2 separate regions of the Homo sapiens genome follow, and region 2 is linked to region 1. Evidence: promoter capture Hi-C in human tissues and cell types (Jung and others, 2019). All regions are on one chromosome and are shown on one strand. The core of a region is centred on a gene start or on the middle of the fragment in contact, and the rest is flanking DNA. Distances in the headings are between cores, read along the strand shown. Region 1 holds the start of NEUROD6 (neuronal differentiation 6). Region 2 has its middle 93 kb from the start of LSM5.

What was found. Contacts are between HindIII fragments. The study calls those that stand out against the background at their distance.
Region 2: a fragment that was not itself captured here is called in contact with the fragment with the promoter of NEUROD6 in region 1 in 1 of the 25 tissues and cell types used here (hippocampus).

The regions. Positions count from the first base shown.
Region 1 is chr7:31,336,983-31,341,979 of GRCh38, reverse strand. It overlaps NEUROD6 (neuronal differentiation 6), which reads left to right and starts at 1,254. Exons shown (of 2, transcript NM_022728.4): 1 at 1,254-1,387; 2 at 2,691-4,515. The coding sequence starts at 2,712. The coding sequence ends at 3,725. The HindIII fragment of the contact is 16,561 bases long and covers 1-4,997 here.
Region 2 is chr7:32,394,861-32,399,920 of GRCh38, reverse strand. It overlaps a transcript of PDE1C not described here. Among named protein-coding and RNA genes, the nearest start is that of LSM5, 93 kb to the left of the region's middle. The HindIII fragment of the contact is 5,072 bases long and covers 324-5,060 here.

The DNA of each region.
Region 1 (4,997 bases), core at 5-2,504:
TAGGGGTGGGGGCACGGGAGAAGAGAAAACAGGAGGAAGGTGGAGTTTGTCTCTGCCTCCACAGTTCGTATTATCTATAAGGCTTTGCCAGCTTTGCTTAACTGTTTCCACCCTGCTTTTGTTAAGAAGAAACCAAAAGTGTGGAGCGGGGAAAAAAGATAAATCTGAAATACACCTGACAGGGAAAAACAACTGGACACTGATACAAGAACAAGAAGATATTTAAATTGATGTTGGTCTAGAGAAAAATGTGAGGACAAGATTTTTAAGAGAAAGAAAAAAATCTGAAAGTCAAAAAAAAAGAAAAAAAAACAAAAACAGGAAAGCTAATCTTTGATTAAAATACTCAGCAGAATGTCAGGGAGAGGAAGACAAACACCTAAGTGATAATTTTTATGTTTATTGTGTCTGAAATGAAATGAGAGGGAACAAGCAAGTTAACGCTGGGAAGAGATAAGGGACAATAAAAGAGTGAAGTTAGTGACTTTCTGCAGAGGACAAAGTATGTAGTTTGAAATCCTTAACAACGGACTTGCAGTGTCTCTGCAAAAGTTGGTGAAAGATACCAGCAAGTGTAGGAAGGGGAGTATTTGAGGATGTCTTTCACAGACCCCAGATGGAGAAGCTGTTCTTTTATTCCAAATGCCTAAGAAGCACAGAAGTCTTACATGTTAATAAGAGAACACAGAGACACACACTCATAAGTTACACGCTGTGAAACAAAACAAGCAAAGGAGACCTTTTTTGACCCCTGTTCACTTACACAAATCTTAGTTTGGTTAAACGTCTTAAGACCAGTTTCCAGCTCCTTTTCACGGCTTTCTTTCCCTGGGTACCCAGGTGCACAAATGGGATGGTGATCTTTACAAAACAACATCATCAACAACAAAAAAAACCTCTTGCTCACACAAAAGCCCACCTTGTAAATGAATGGAATATTAACGATCACCTAATACTTGCACCTTTGGCAGGGCGAAACTGAACACTAACACAGCTATTTCTACAGATTGCCAGTGAAACCGAAGCAGTTCGAGGAGAAATGCACCTACTGTACGTGAAATGCTGGTGCAGATTTTTTTCCTATCAGTCTAACCTTCTGTGTTGATGCATGAAGGCTGGTACCCACTTACAGGGATGCCAGATGATCAGTGCAGAATGAAGGTCCCAAGAGAGAGGATCACATGGCTCTCTCTGCCCTGTGACGTCACTAGCAGATGGCATGGGTACCAGCTCTGGCAGTTGGCATCAATGTCACTTTTTAGAGATCAATGAGATAGTGCAGATATACACAGATCTAGAGACTCCAGGAGACGATGCGACACTCAGCCTGAAAAGATTTGGAAGACCCAAAATGAAAACTGATTATTGAATGAAATTAAAACCTAAGGTAATATAAATAAAGATATACTTCAATTGATGCTGGCTTTGCATGCAAGTATTTAAAGATACAGTGTCACTGTCTTATAGTATTTATATGCTCTTTGCCATCTATAACTTATCATATTTCATTCTTATGATGTAATTATCACATACTTTCACTGCTATTATGTAACACTGCAAGTATGTGGACATTACTAAGAGTTTGTGTATGTGTTCGTGTGTATATGTGTGTGTTGAGGGGGCTGGAGATTGTTAAATTGAAAAGTCTCTGCTTTAATGTGCCTATTTGTTTGAAGACTTTAGATGAAAATACTTGCTGCTTCACCAGACAAAAACCAAAATGCATTTGAAACACAAATTATTTTCCCCTTTCATTTGGGATTCTGAACACACGTGCACAATTGCAGTCAGAATCCTTGGACCGTTCCTGTCAGATATTAGCTAGAGGGAGACTTCTATGGCTCGTAGAACAAAAACACTACGAGAGTGGTTTTTGTCCAGGATGATTTGAACAGCAGTAAACAGACAATTCTATTTGGAAAAAATTTAAATGTAAATAAAATCAGTCTCTATTTTTTTTAATTAAAAGAAATTGCTAGTGATTTTTATGTTTTAAATTTATTTATAGAGTTTATTCCAAATTAGCCTAATCCCCTTTTCTTTTTGAAGCCTGGGAAAATAGTGCCCTTTTACATAATTCTTTACTGATCAGAAAAAATCAGTTGAAAAATTGACTCTGATTATAATCTTTTCTTTAAATTTGTATATTCCCACACCCACTTATCTAAATTCACAGTTGTGTGATACAGCAAATAAAGTTAAGGTTTTGTTTGTTTGTTTGTTTGTTTTAAAAAAAGAACACAAATTTGTCAGCTAATGGAGAGATAGTCCATTTTAAAAACTGGTTTATCTTCTCATTTTGTGCTCAGGGGAATTGGAATTAATGAAATTCTGCATTGCAATTTCATGTTTTGCATTTGCTTGAATTCCACAATCTTTTTTGGGGGTATTAAAATCCAGTTTAAAGGCAAAGAGAAATGTAGATGGTAATGATATCACAATAATTATATGTTTCATTTTTATTTTCTTTTGATAATTTGCTCATATAAATAATCCTATTGAATGCATCAATGTCTTCATAATTACTTATCTTCACAAACTCAAAATTATATTTAATGTTAAAAAATCAGGCCCAGAATCAGTCTTTTTCACGTGTTTTTGTAATCTTATGATTAAATAATTAAATATGTTTTAAGTGTATAAACTTTAAAAATGAAAACTCTTTAAATATTGTGCTGGCATTTTTTCAGGTAATTTAAGATTAGAGAACCATGTTAACACTACCGTTTGATGAGTCTGTTGTAATGCCAGAATCCCAGATGTGCAGAAAGTTTTCTAGAGAATGCGAGGACCAGAAGCAAATTAAGAAGCCAGAAAGCTTTTCCAAACAGATTGTCCTTCGAGGAAAGAGCATCAAAAGGGCCCCTGGAGAAGAAACCGAGAAAGAAGAAGAGGAGGAAGACAGGGAAGAGGAAGATGAAAATGGGTTGCCTAGAAGGAGGGGTCTTAGGAAAAAAAAGACAACAAAGCTGCGATTGGAAAGGGTCAAGTTCAGGAGACAGGAAGCGAACGCGCGCGAGAGGAACAGGATGCACGGCCTCAACGACGCTCTGGACAACTTAAGAAAAGTGGTCCCCTGTTATTCTAAAACCCAGAAACTGTCCAAAATAGAGACTTTACGACTGGCCAAAAACTACATCTGGGCACTTTCTGAAATTCTGAGAATCGGCAAGAGACCAGATCTGCTCACATTCGTCCAAAACTTATGCAAAGGTCTTTCCCAGCCAACTACAAACTTGGTGGCAGGCTGCTTGCAGCTCAACGCCAGGAGTTTCCTGATGGGTCAGGGTGGGGAGGCTGCACACCACACAAGGTCACCCTACTCTACCTTCTACCCACCCTACCACAGCCCTGAGCTCACCACTCCCCCAGGGCATGGGACTCTTGATAATTCCAAGTCCATGAAACCCTACAATTATTGCAGTGCGTATGAATCCTTCTATGAAAGTACTTCCCCTGAGTGTGCCAGCCCTCAGTTTGAAGGTCCCTTAAGTCCTCCCCCAATTAACTATAATGGGATATTTTCCCTGAAGCAAGAAGAAACCTTGGACTATGGTAAAAATTACAATTACGGCATGCATTACTGTGCAGTGCCACCCAGGGGTCCCCTTGGGCAGGGTGCCATGTTCAGGTTGCCCACCGACAGCCACTTCCCTTACGACTTACATCTGCGCAGCCAATCTCTCACAATGCAAGATGAATTAAATGCAGTTTTTCATAATTAATGAGGAAAATGAAAATAAACAGTGGTCATTCACCTCCCCTGTCTAATTAAGACAAAGCAGATGCTTGTGGGCTGAGTAATTGGCACAACTCTATCTAAGGTGTTTACTAGTTTCTGAAGTGTGTTTCAACTATTGTGAGAATTTTCTATGTAATAATAAATCTCTTTTCGTATGAGAACTTCTTTTCCTTTCCTTTTGTCTGTGAAGCACTGTGATTCTGTTTCTACTGGAAAGATTTTTTTCTTTTTAATTTTCTTTTAAACTTATTTAATTTGTTTGAACAAGGTGTCTAAGAATATACTGTTGAATAAAGACATGCACACAGCATAATTCAATGTCTATTTTGGTTGTACAGTAATTATAAAATGCATGTTATTAAAACCAGATGAGTAAAATGATGTGTTTATAATTATTAGGAATTATATATTATGTATCTTTTAAAAATTGAAATTTTAAAATATGGAGAATATCACTAAGCTGACAATGATATTGGGAGATGAATTTGCAACAATATAAAAAGCTATGCAATTTTCTTTTTATTAAGGATGAATCTAAATGCATTCAATTGGTAACTATTCCTCTTCAAGTATTTGCAGATGGGGCAACATGATATTTGGGTAGCTGATGTCATAATTCGGGGACAATTATCTCAATCATCAAGAAAAAAATTTCAGCACTTGTTTTGTATTATTCAGAAATTAACTGTACAGGTTTGTTATCACAATGTATAATTGTGTTTTTCCACCCCACATTTTTAAGGCAATTAAATATAGATATTTCCACTCGTAAAGGACATCTACTAGCTGTGATATTTTTGCATGCTACTTATTATTTCCTGGCACACAGCTGCTTTCTGTCTCCAATACTCCCCACTCCTCATTTCAGAAATATTTCTGGATTACAAAACCGTAGGAGCTAAAACAAATTTCTTAAACAGAATGGCCAAAGCGCTTACAAGAATTTTTTTTTCAAGTGTCTTAAATGAAAGAAGAGGAGCCCATGAGGGTTAAACATCCTGGGGAAACAATGATAAATCCTGGTAACCTTCAGCTCGAGCCTAAAATCGGTGGCAAATTTCCAACAAACACCAGAGTGGATGTTAAAAATGGAAGGTTTTACTCTGCGCCGGTTAAATGTCTGGCCGATCAGAGGCTAAATTCTGTGTGATTAAAAGTTTCCTTACAAAGGCCACCAAAAACTTATTTTTAATAGCGCTTGGGGAGCTAAACCTCTTAAACAGGATTGAGTCTCTTCTACAATCATGGGCGGGGT
Region 2 (5,060 bases), core at 1,610-4,109, 1.1 Mb before region 1:
AGGGTCTTTAGGAGGTAATTAAGGTTAAATGAAGTCAGGCCTGGTGTGGTGGCTCATGCCTGTAATCCTAGCACTTTGAGAGGCCGAAATGGGAGGATTGCTTGAGGCTAGGAGTTCAAGACCAGCCTGACCAAAATGGCAAAACCCTGTCTCTACTAAAAATACAAAAGATTAGCTGGGTGTGGTGGCACATGCCTGTAATCCCAGCAACTTGGGAGGCTGAGGCATGAGAATCATTTGAACACAGGAGGCAGAAGTTGCAGTGAGCTGGGATTGTGCCACTGCATTCCAGTCTGGGCAACAGAGGAAGACTCTGTCTCAAAAAAAAAAAAAAAAAAAGTTAAATGAAGTCATAGGGTGGATCCCTGAACCAATAAGACTGTGGCCTTATAAGACGAGGATGAGCAAGATCTCTCTGCCACATGAGGACATAGTGAGAGGCACCGCCCGCAAGCCAGCTGTAGGCTCTCACCAGGACCCAACCATGCTAGCACCCTGATGATGGACTTCCAGCCTCCAGAACCATGAGAAAATAAATTTCTGTTGCTTAAGCCACTCAGTCTATGGCATTTTGTTGTGGCAAAATAATACAGGATCCTACAGGGTCTGACCAGTACAGGATCCCACAAAGTATTTGGATCTATTGTTCCAGTCATTCTAAATCTAAGAATTTATTCTAAGAATGCAATCCAACATGGGGACAAAACTCTGAGGACACACAACCGTGTGTAGGTGATGGCTTGATCGACTATGAGAACCAACTGAGCACACCTCTTCCCAGCTCCTCATCCAGTGATTTCACAATGGTAGCTTGCTAATAGTGACATAGTTCACTGTGTATATGTCCCTGTATTCACACCATATACTGAATACCGTGGAAAACACCACAAATCAGGGCCCCTCCCCCAGTTAAACATTTGCTGGGTAAGGGTGTTCACTATTTGTAATAGTGAAGAATCAGATGCAAACTAAATGTCTAGCAAGAGGAAAAGTTACCCTATGTGCTGGTGATCTGTTTAATCCTCCAAACCCACTTTCCACCCTTACCTAATCTGGGAGGCTGACCTTTATGGTCTGCTCTTACTTTCTGTCTTCTGTTTGGGTTGTGCCAATGAGAATGTGCCGAAGAATGGAGGATGGAAGGAGAGTAATATCAGGTCATTTATTCCCCCAAGTTCCCTTCCTGTAGGGTCACCATTAGCTGGCTGTCCCTCAGCTAGGATCACAGTTCTGGCCGGGCACCGTGGTTCACGCCTGTAATCCCAGCACTTTGGGAGGCCGAGACGGGAGGATCACTTGAGGTCAGGAGTTTGAGACCTGCCTGGCCAATATGGTGAAACCCCATCTCTACTAAAAATACAAATATCAGCTGGGTTTGGTGGCATGCACCTGTAATCCCAGCTACTTGGGAGGCTGAGGCAGGAGAATCACTTGAACCCAGGTAGTGGAGGTTGTGGCCAGCCAAGATTGCGCCACTGCACTCTACCCTGGGTGACAGAGCAAGACTCTGTCTCAAAAGAAAAAAAAAATCACAGTTCCTACCAAGTGATCTTGGAAATCATCCCGTATCAGTTCATACAGATCTTCCTCACTTTTTCTTTTTCTTTTTTTTTTTTTTGAGACGGAGTCTCGCCCTGTCACCCAGGCTGGCGCAATCTCGGCTCACTGCAAGCTCTGCCTCCTGAGTTCAACTGATTCTCCTGCCTCAGCCTCCTGAGTAGCTGGGATTACAGGTGCATGCCATCATGCTTGGCTAATTTTTTTTTTTGAGACGGAGTCTTGCTCTGCAGCCCAGGCTGGAGTGCAGTGGCGCGATCTCGGCTCACTGCAAGCTCCGCCTGCTGGGTTCACGCCATTCTCCTGCCTCAGCCTCCAGAGTAGCTGGGACTACAGGCGCCCGCCACCACCCCCGGCTAATTTTTTTATTTTTAGTAGATGAGGGGTGTCACTGTGTTAGCCAGGATGGTCTCGATCTCCTGACCTCATGATCTACCTGCCTTGGCCTCCCAAAGTGCTGGGATTACAGGTGCATGCCACCATGCCCGGCTAATTTTTTTTTTTTGTATCTTTAGTAGAGATGAGGTTTCACCATGTTGGCCAGACTAGTCTCGAACTCTGACCTCATGATCTGCCCACCTGGGCCTCCCAAAGTGCTGAGATTACAGGCGTGAGCCACCGTGCCTGACCCTCACTTTTTTTTCTTAAACAGTTGCAGATGTTCCATAATTTATTCAACCATGTTCTCTCCTATAGGCATTTAGATTGTTTCCAATATATTGCAATTACAAATAAAGTTGCAATGTATAACCTTGTATATATGTATTTTCATATAGTTTGGAGGTGTATCATCAAGTTAAAGGTCTAGAAATGAGATTGCTAGGCAAATGCACATGTAATTTTTAAAAATTTGCCAAATTCTCCTCTACAAGAGCTGAACCAGTTTGCATTCCCACTAGCAATGAATAAGAACTTGTATTTGCCTCCAGCCTTGACAATATGTTGTCAAGCTTCTAAATTTCCGTCAATCTGATATGTGAGAAATGGTATCTCGGGGTAGTTATAGTTTGCATCAAAAAATTATGGATGAAGTTTAATATATTTTTGTTTAAGTTTTCTGTTCATGTCTTTTACTTATTTTTTTCTGGGTTTCTGGCATTAGTCCCTCTCAATTTTTAAGAGTTAAAAATATATTAGGATATTGGCCCTTTATCTGTTATATGTTATGAACATTTTCTTTTTCGGCTTTGGTTATGATATTTTTTGTCACATGAAAGTATATTTCAGTATAGTAAAATTTATAGACCTTTTCCTTTATTGCATCTGGATTTTGAGTCATAGTTAGGAAGCTTTTCCCTACCTGGAGTTTGTAGAGAAATTCACCCATGTTTTCATGTAGTATTTGGTTTCGTTTTTTAATTTTAGGTCTCTGATCCTTTTTAAGTTTTTCCTTGTTTATGGTGTGAGATATGCATCTAAATCAATCTTTTTCCAAATGGTTATGAAGTTGTCCTTAAGTCATTTGATAAAATGTTCATCTCTTCTCTAAATGATTTGAGATACCACCTGTATCAAATATTAGATTTCCATGTGTACTTTGGACTGTTTTTGCAGTTTGTTCATTACATTTCCCTGTGATTTATTCTTATGCTGGTTTCACGTTGTTTTTATTTTTTTGGCACCAGTTTAAAAAAAACATTTTACTATAACAAACATACACAAAGTTGAAAGAATTTTACAGTGAAACCCATGTATCTGTCTGTATTCTACAGTGAACACTTCATTACATTTGCTTTGTCACATACTTATCCATCTCTTATCTCTCTATTCATCCATCAATTCATCTTATTTTTTCATGCATTTCAAAGAAAGTTGAAGACATTACAACACTCCCCCCCCCCATACTTCAATATGCATATCCACTTTATTTTTTATTTTTGTTTTTTGACACAAGGTCTCACTCTGTTGTTCAGGCTGGAGTGCAGTGGCATGATCTCTGCTCACTGCCACCTCGACCTCCTGGGCTCAAGTGATCCTCTCACTTCAGTCTCCCTAGTAGCTGGGACTACAGGCACGCACCACCATGCCCAGCCAATTTTTGTATTTTTATAGAGACAGGGTTTTGCCATGTTGCCCTGGCTGCTCTTGAATTCCTGGGCTCAAGCAATCCACCTGCCTCAGCCTCCCAAAGTGTTGGGATTACAGGTGTGAGCCACTGCACCTGGCTACATATCCATTTTAATTATGGAAGCTTAATAGTATGTTTTACTCTCTGCTGGGGCTAGTCCACCCTCATAGCTTTTCTCTTTTGGGTTTTCCAGCTATTTTATGATTCTTTTGCCATATAAACTTTAGTATCAACTTATCTAGCTCCATTATTTTAAAAAAGCTTGTTGATATTTTTATTGTGATTGCGTTCACTTTTAAATTAATTTAGGGACTACTGAGTTTTTAAGATATAATACTATGTTGTCTATCCAAAAAGAAAATATGTTTTTCCTGTAAATTAAATTTGAAGGCAAGAAGAAAAAGTAAAGAAAGTAAAATATTTTTTTTAGAATTGTTCAATCAGGAGTGTTTTAAAGTTTTCCTCATAAAGGTTTTCCTGAGAATGCTTTTTATTATATCTCTAACAAATTTTATTATATCTCTAACAAATATCTCTGTCTGCTACTCGTGAAGATCAAGAGTCTGTAAAACAACTTCTTAGCTTTGTAGCTGTAGCTAACTAAAATGTTTCTTCTTGTACTGACCCAGTAGTTTTTTCTCTGTAATTTATAGCCTTACCCCAGGTTTTAGTTTAGGTCATTGGAATAACAGATAAAAACTGTAAGTTCACTTCCCAGCTTGCTGATAGGATGAAGATCAACAGTCTAAGCCCATCCTCACTGGCTTCTGCGCACCTGTCCACCTCCTCTACCACTACCCCCCACCTCACCACCTTCTATCCTAGCAATATGGAATCACATTATTTCCTCACCCATATCCCTTTTTATGCCTTTGTGCCTCTGCTGATGCCTCTATCTGTAGTTTCTTGCCCCCCTCATCTTTCTGGAAATCTTTTACTTTTCTCTGTAAACTCAGTTGAAGAGTCACCTCCTCCAGGAAGCCTTCCCTGACCTCCCAAAGCACACTTCCCCCTGTACCTGTTTTGACTGCTGCACTTATGACATTGTGAGGTATGTGTTTTACATGTCTTTTCCTCCTTGATGTTTGTTTCTCCCCATCTTTGTATTACTAGCATTGAGTACAGTTCTTGGCACATAGCATGTGCTCAAATAGTTATTGAATAAATGAATGATTATAGGCCAGATTTCTCACCTTTTCCATATCGCAGTTGTCTCAATTCATTTTGCCGTTGCTCTAAAGGAATACCTGAGGCTGGGTAATTTATAGAGAAAGAGGTTTATCTGGCTCACAACTCTGCAGGCTGTACAAGAAGCATGGCACCAGATCTGCTTCTGGAGAGGAACTCAGAAAGCTTCCAATCATGACAGAAGGCCAAGGAGGAGCCAGCATGTCACACGGTGAGAGAGGAGGTGAGAGAGGAAGAGAGAGAGAGA